Linked DNA regions of Homo sapiens: regions 1 and 2 are each linked to region 3. The links are contacts of gene promoters, found by promoter capture Hi-C in blood cells and fetal thymus (Javierre and others, 2016). All regions are on one chromosome and are shown on one strand. Each heading gives the region's core, a stretch centred on a gene start or on the middle of the fragment in contact. The rest is flanking DNA. Distances are from core to core; before and after follow the strand shown. Region 1 has its middle 46 kb from the start of ADAM28. Region 2 overlaps LOC107986931 (a long non-coding RNA gene). Region 3 holds the start of STC1 (stanniocalcin 1).

What was found. Contacts are between HindIII fragments. The CHiCAGO score rates a contact against its expected background, and 5 or more counts as called.
Region 1: a contact is called between a fragment that was not itself captured here and the fragment with the promoter of STC1 in region 3, in 1 of 17 cell types (total B cells). The highest score is 5.4, in total B cells.
Region 2: a contact is called between a fragment that was not itself captured here and the fragment with the promoter of STC1 in region 3, in 6 of 17 cell types (M2 macrophages, total B cells, naive B cells and 3 more). The highest score is 9.5, in M2 macrophages.

Annotation. Positions count from the first base shown.
Region 1 is chr8:24,247,167-24,249,866 of GRCh38, reverse strand. No RefSeq gene overlaps it. Among named protein-coding and RNA genes, the nearest start is that of ADAM28, 46 kb to the left of the region's middle. The HindIII fragment of the contact is 2,231 bases long and covers 207-2,437 here.
Region 2 is chr8:24,175,597-24,178,296 of GRCh38, reverse strand. All of the region lies in intron 2 of LOC107986931 (a long non-coding RNA gene), which reads right to left. Among named protein-coding and RNA genes, the nearest start is that of ADAM28, 120 kb to the left of the region's middle. The HindIII fragment of the contact is 970 bases long and covers 817-1,786 here.
Region 3 is chr8:23,853,522-23,856,221 of GRCh38, reverse strand. STC1 (stanniocalcin 1) reads left to right here and starts at 1,416. Exons shown (of 4, transcript NM_003155.3): 1 at 1,416-1,816. The coding sequence starts at 1,699. The HindIII fragment of the contact is 2,191 bases long and covers 1-1,592 here.

The sequences.
Region 1 (2,700 bases), core at 73-2,572, 390 kb before region 3:
AGGTGAGACAGCCAGGCTTGTTTTTCTATTCTCCATTTACAAATTTGTAAGTATATCAGATTTTATTGAAGGCTTAAGTAAAATAAGAATAACAACCTAGGAGAGCAAGTACTTAAAACTGTAGTTTTATTCTTATGGCAAGAAACTCAAGAAATAGACTACTTCCCTAAGTAGGCGCCATACGTATTCACCCCAGTGCCTAAGCTTGCTCCATGGTTAGGATGAAAGAGGGCACTATGATTAGCCATCTGGACAAGGGGTATAACTTAGAACTCTCCTGGGCACTTGGCATGTGTGGTCACCCTGCCTAGAGTCCTTACCTTTGTGCTTCTTTGTGAAATTGACCCTTCCTTCTAAATTCTGCCATGTGACTCTCTTTCTGCGTTTTGGGCTTCACCATCACCCCCACAATGCACGTTCCTCCCTCATGAAGTGGATTTTTCCCAGTCTGAATTATATTTGGAAATACACATGTATAATTTACAAAATTTCATATATTTGGCAAATCAGGAGGAAAACATTGGTCTGGATCTCTAACTCCTTCTATAAACGGGCTTAGGGAAGCCAGTGACATTTCAAACTTAAATCAAAATCTTTTCCAGTGACTTATACTCTTTATTCTCCAACAAGTAACTAATCACAAGTAACCCACCCCCCAACACACACACACACATCTTTCCAGAAGGACAAATATCAAATCTCACATATTATAGAATGTAGAGCCCTAAGAATGAAAATAAGTATGTTTTTCTGTCCCATAATCTACCATGACGTTCTTGAACTGAGAGATAATTCTTCGTTGTCAGGGGACGCCCTGTGCATGGTAGAATATTCAGCAGCTCCTCTGGCCTCCAGCCACTAGGTGTCAGTATGACTACCCCTGTGCTTTTGTGACCACCAAAAATGACTCCAGACATTGCCAAATATCACCTAAGGAGAATTCTCCCCAGTTCATAAATACTGCTCTAGAGTTAAAACTTTACTATGAATAGAAGTTTTAGTTATTTTGGTTTTATTTCCTCGTTTTCAGAAAACCAATCCCTCAGACTTGAAGGTACCAAGAAATAAACACAATATAGGGCAGTAAGTATCTTAATGTACATTCTCTTAGTTACATAAAGGCACATTGAAACTATTGAAATGATCATTTGTAAACACCCAAGTGAATTCTTAGCAAAAAGCCATCTTCTTCCTGGTCTGTCTGGGGGAGAGATGGTAGGCGGTGGTTTCATTCCTGCAGTTACCTGATGTTCCTGTGGAAAAAGCTATAACCCTAATATAACTATATCAGGTTGAGTAAGTTATTGAGCACACCTGGCTGAGCTGCACAGAGTGTTTTCTGGAAGATGCATTTTAGCACCAAATCCTATTAGAATTCAGGTAGGGGAGGGACTAGTGTCTGGTTGGGCCATATCTACCTGAGCTGCCTATTTAGGTAGCTCATGAGAGAAAAGAGAATTATTTCTCTGCTAGGTAATTTACCTCTGCTATCTCAGGCTCTCAAGAATTTAGTAGTTTAGGACTCATTATTTTTGTTGTTGAAGAAATTTTGACTCAGAGAATTTCTAATGCAACTAAATCACCTAGTTAACAACTGTTGCATCTGGGAGCCATAGCCGATGTGATTCCTGATAAAAGGTCTTGATACTACAGAAGTCAATTCTTATAAATCTTACTCAAAATCTCCTAATTCAGAGAGGAGTAATAGTTGACAAAGTATTAGGTTGAGCCACAGTGGCACAGAGAAGGAGGTATAATTTGCCAATTGTTCCCCAGAATTCATTTTGCTATTCTTCTGCCAAAAGATTGTGGAGAATCCACCCTGCCATCATTATCCAGCAGGAGGCTTGGGAAGGACCACCCCCTCCCAGTTGCAGAAATGGCCCCTGGTTGGCTTATAGCCAACCAGCAGATCCTGCCTTCTGTTCTGTAAGGTTTGTGTAATATCCAATTCAGGCCAGAGAAAGGATACATCTCAGCATTCGCTTGGGATCTACCAGAAGAGAACCTCTCTGTACTCTTAAATAATGTAGGCTGAAGTTAACACCTGGAGCCACTGCAGCCATTTTGCTACCATGAATTGAGAGCTTAGCACTGTGTTGGGGTAAGTGGAGTGGGCTGCAGAATGGAGGGGTGGACATTGAGAGAGATGTCAATGCTGCAGAAAGCAGGATAAAGAGAGAGTGAGGACAGGTCCTGAGTAACATCGTCTGGATCTGAGTTGAGTCTCTCCTGAAGGTAGTCCCATATTTGGACTTTAAGTTAGAAACTGATTTCATTAATGTGAAAGTCAAAGTGGTCTGGAATTTCTGATACTTGAGACCAAATGAGCCCTAACTATTACAAGAAGTATGTAATCACATAATGAGGTCTTCTTGCTTGCTGCCCAGATAGAGCTGGTTTATCAAGACAGGGGAATTTCAGTAGAGAAAAAGCTTAATTCACACAGAGCTAGCTGAATGGGAGACTGGAGTTTTATTTTTCAAATCAGTCTCTCAGAAAATTTGGAGATGGGGGCTTTTTAAGGATAGTTTGGTGGGGGGCCAGGGAGTGGAGGAGTGCTGATGGGTTGGGTCAGAGATGAAATCATACGGGGTCAAATGGGTTTTTCTTGCTGCCTTCTATTCCTGCGTGGGATTGCACAACTGGTTGAGCCAGATTACTGATCTGGTTGGCGCCAGCTGTTGCATCAGAACTAAG
Region 2 (2,700 bases), core at 52-2,551, 320 kb before region 3:
ATCTATGTATTATTGCAAGAAAAATGCTTCTATAATTAATGACTGAAAGCTGTTAACTTTATATATAAAAACAAATATTAAAAACTTTCAAGTAGTTGAATAGAGTAATATATTTATAGTTAATTTGAGAATACTAGACAGATTATGCAGCACTATCTAACTGTATGGAAAACATAGTCCTAATATAAAACAACAATATTTAAAAATCTATATAATAGAAATTGTAAAAAGGAAAAAATCTTTATAATTCTAGTAATTTATAGAGTAATTCTATCCTCGCATTCCTAATAGTATATGAAGCAATCCTTACTAATTTTTAGATAATTCCACCTATACTGCAAAGCTTATTTAAAAGCATCCTACTCATGAATTTTCATATCTATAAGGATGGATTAAAAGCCACATTTCCAGGAAAAGAAAAATTTCCAAAATCGTGTACAAAACATTCACACTAAATTACTTTGATTCAAAGCAATAAACACTATAAATAAATAGTCTGAAGAAGGAAAAATTAGAAACAAATAAAGGTATCCCAAGCACCATTATTTTTCACTAAGTAAATTTCAAAACTATTACAAAAGTATTTTAATAATATTTGTCTTATAGTTCTGACTCTAGAAGAAAATATTGAAGGTTTGACAGCTCAGTGGAGTAAGAATGATTTCCACTATATGTCTGCTTTGCTTGCTTGCTCAGAGAATTCTGTGTCCCACATAAACTAACACAGTGAATTTCATTGAAGAAATTCATATAAAATGGAAAATAAAACAATGTTATGCAACCGATGTTGAAAATGGCACAGATGTGGTCTAAGCTTTAAGTAATTAAGAAGCCAAAAGCATACATTGTTTTGTTAACACCAATTAATTGTATATTCAGAAAGAAATTGTAGTACAAGATAATGTTAAAAAAAAAAAAATCCATTGCCTTATCAGGAATGTACTGGGAATTTTGCATTTTTTTCTAGCTGAAGACAAACTACATAATATATAAGAGATTTGAGTACTGCCTTATCAAATACCTATGCAAGATATTCAAATGTGGTAAAATTGCAATTACAGGTCAAAAAGACTTCTTGAATAAAATAAATATTTAATAATTTATTTACAGACAACCCACAACCAACCAGCGTGACCTATTTCATCAATAGTTTCTTACAGAAAATGAAGTGAGTGTGATGGGCACTGCTGAAGAAGTAACCAAACAGAAGAATTTCAAAACTTTATCAATTTCTTATATTTTATCTGCTGCAAACATCCTTCTATTATTCCACTCAGGTAAAATGCTAAAATTAATATTCATTAAATGGAAACTACATTGGAGTTACAGACAATAAATCAAAGGCAATTTTTGTTATCTTGAAAACTAATTACATTGCTTTCATTTCTGCATTTCTGTGTCTGTAGTTTAAGGGCATTTTCCCCGCAGTGATTATGTAAAACAGCAAGTGAATGCAAAACAATCTTAGAAATAAAATATATAAGTGAAGGCAGTAATTCTAAGCCTGAAATCTGAAAATACTCAGAAAACATCCTTTTTTCAAATACTATATCAAACTTTAGTTTATAAGATTGCTTCAAAGAAATTGCATTATATAATACAAATCAAGTTCAGGGGTTATGTCAGGAGATGGGTGAAAAATGTAATAATTAGGTGATAGCATCGCTACAAGTTGGACACTGTCAGCAGCAGGAGTAAAAAATGATCTTGGTCATTCACCAGTTTCAGTTGAAAGTAAGCATGTATTTAGTAAGGCAAACATTCAGTACAGTGACAGAAGCAAGCTTGTAGATTAAGGTACTGGGAAATTAACATTCTTCCATTTCTATGCCAAACTTATAAAATTTGACTATTCAATTACAAATTAAAAATTGTAATAATGGTTAATTTGTTGGTATTCTAATTCCCATATCATGAAGTTTCTTCCCTGAAAGTAATATTTGCCTTTTGCTAAATATTGATTTTAAGCACTGGCCCATTAAGTCCAAAGATATGTTCAGAGGCCCTGCCAAGTATCAGGCTTTCGAGAGATAGTGAATAAAACCAAGAGGCTGTTCCCAACCTTCCAGTGCTTATATTCCAGTAGGAGATGATAGGAAAGAAACAAAGGTACACCAGATGTCTAAAATGCTATGAAGACAAAGCAAACAGGGTAAGGAATGGACAGGAGGAAGGTTATTCTCGGTAAGGTCGTCCTGGGGAAGGCCACAGAAATAAGTAGGAAAGAGCATTCCTGGCAAAGAGAACAGCCTATGCAAATGCCTAAGGCAAGAACATGACAGATATGTTTAAGAGAACCAAGGATGAACGTTAATACCAGAAGATAGAACAAAGGAGAAAGTGATGGGAGATAAAGTGGGAGAACAAATGGTAAAGACTTTGAAACTTTTAGCAAGTATAATGAGAAACCTTTGGGGGGATTTGGCAGTCAAGTGAAATAATTTGACTTATATTTTTAAAAACTGTCACTTAGAGAATAGACATCAGACATCATGGGAGTAGGGTATCTGAGTTGCAAGGACACAAATTTTACAGGATCCTTTCATAGGAATATCAGGAAGACTGTTGTAATTGTCCAGAGAAAATATCACAGTGCTTTAATCTGGAGAGGCAGCAGAGGAAGTAGTAGAATGTGGTCAAACTCAGGAGATACTGTGAATATAACCTAGCCACTGAACTTAAGCCCAATTCATGGTATGT
Region 3 (2,700 bases), core at 167-2,666:
ACTCTTTCTTCAACTTTTGTTTGAAGGTTTTAGGATGCAAAGTAAAGCCACTGGCCCCATTTCTCTGCAAGATTATCCTGCCCAAATCTGTATGAATCACCAGTGGCCATTTCTCATCTACTTCCCCAAAATTATTAAAGGTTTTATTGTATAATACCTTCACCACCTTCCTACCCTAAGAAGTCCTCTTCTGGCTCATTAACCTCCTTCACATGTTGGGGACAAACCTCAGCATTGCCTACAACTCACTTATAAGAAAATATAAGTTTCTATACCAGGCATGATTTGTGATTGCAGTGCAATTTTCCTATTAAGTCTAGAGCTTATCATTCTTCTCTCCTACACATTCTGGTCTTTCTCTACCCCTTCTTTCCATTCTGCCCCCTTTTTTCCTACCCCTCTCCCCAAGAAATGAACTGGTTTCCATTCAGCAGGTTTAGTCTTGCTTTGGCCAGCTTATTGTTTCAAAGTGGTTATAAAGTTGCTGGGCTTGAACACAGATTATTAATTTTCAGGCATTCATGATGTCTCCCTGTTGAGTGTGGTATGTGCAGGTGTGCACATGTGTACCTGGGGTAACTAACACTCCTGGACTATGCAATTTTGCTGGTGACTGAAAAGATGAAGTCAAAGTTGATTTGATTATTGAAGAATCACATTATTTTAGAGGTATACAGAATGTCAGAGTCCAACTTTGGCGTTTTACAGATGGGAAAACGAGGTGGGGCAAGGTAAAAAGACTTAGCCAGAGTCATAGGTTGATCAGTAGGGGGACTAAGGCTTCAGCTCTGAGCTGTCATATCTCAGTCCCCCAAGGCTTTTCCACTCACATAAATTCCCCCTCAAGGGCTCAAATGTGTGAGTGAGAACCCAGGATGTCCACATACAAACAAAAATGCATCATAGACATGTGAACATGTACACACAGAGAAGATAGGGAGTTATTGCATTTGTAGCCTACAAAACAGAACCGAGAATGTGCTGTTAAAATTAGAGTAAAACTGCTGTAAGCAGGTTAAGTTCTCATCTAAAGAGATCACATTTCCCCACCATACCCCTGCTATCCATTTCCCCCAAGTGGCTCATTAGAAAAAAAGATGGCTAGATTTCAAAAAGCAACTTGGAGAGATTTCTATAGGATTTTTCTTTAGTTCAATCAATACAGAGTTATCTCTTACTTCCACGAAAATAGCTTTTTCACACATCTCTGCACACACAGTCACACACACATATAAAACATTGGCAGCAGGTACTTTTAATTTGCTGGAAAATATTTCTAAGAAGTCAAAAAGCTCCAGCTGAATTGCATGCCCTCTTATTGGCTCACCAGACCAGTTGAGGGACCTGATTGGTCCTTGATCCTGAGGACCGATAAGAACGGCTATAAAATCCCTGGGTGCAGCTCTTGGGCCCCCAGTTTGCAAAAGCCAGAGGTGCAAGAAGCAGCGACTGCAGCAGCAGCAGCAGCAGCGGCGGTGGCAGCAGCAGCAGCAGCGGCGGCAGCAGCAGCAGCAGCGGAGGCACCGGTGGCAGCAGCAGCATCACCAGCAACAACAACAAAAAAAAATCCTCATCAAATCCTCACCTAAGCTTTCAGTGTATCCAGATCCACATCTTCACTCAAGCCAGGAGAGGGAAAGAGGAAAGGGGGGCAGGAAAAAAAAAAAACCCAACAACTTAGCGGAAACTTCTCAGAGAATGCTCCAAAACTCAGCAGTGCTTCTGGTGCTGGTGATCAGTGCTTCTGCAACCCATGAGGCGGAGCAGAATGACTCTGTGAGCCCCAGGAAATCCCGAGTGGCGGCTCAAAACTCAGGTAAGCAGCAAACCCAAGAGCGGTTTCTCCCCCAAAGAGCTGTCCTCATTTGCCTCTCCCTTTTGCAACTGTGTCTGTGACGGCTGATCTTGATAATAAATGTGCTTCATGCCTGATGGCAATAAACTGCCAGTGTAATCCAATAGCCTTAGGCAGTGGAGCTCCTTTGTTTAATAAATTGCATGCAACTAAACGAAGAAGCTGGACGCTCTGCTGAGGGTATTTCATTGCATAAGCCTAGCCTGATTGCCTGAAATCTGGCACGTACCCTCTTGGAGGGGGAGGGGTGAGAGGGGAGGAAAGGCTTGAATGTTGGCATGCTTCAAAGCGCTCTCTATACTTTCCAGAAGCTGATCTAAGGTAAGACCTGGCTTGTTTGATGCTGTCCCTCTTCCTTTCCTCTTAAGACTCTACCTCTTCACTTCTTGACTTCTCTACCTAAGAGAATACACAGAAAAGCTCCCTCTTCAGACTGATTTTCAGAACCATAGCCCTCAAGTCTGACAAATCCAGGGCGGATTCAGAGAAAACCCTATACATCCCACCCCCAACCCTGCTGCCTGTCTCCCTCCTGGCTCTGTAGGGCTCCATTCAGTCGTCCCTGCAGCCCGTAGCCAGAGAGCCCCTAGAAAAAAAAAATTGTGAAACGTAGCAGCTGTTTCTCCAAGGGTAAGGTCTCACTTTCGTCTTGACTCTTGGAGCAGTTAATTGTGCATTATCTTGGCTTCTGAAGGAAAAGAATCATTAGGAAGCCTGCATTGACACCTCTGCCTCTTGACTTCTCTGGCTCCACTTGTTCCCCTTCCAATACTGCCCTCTGTCCTCCAACTGTCAGCAAAGACCGGATCACAGGTGTCAAAATGCTGCAGATGATGATCCCCTTG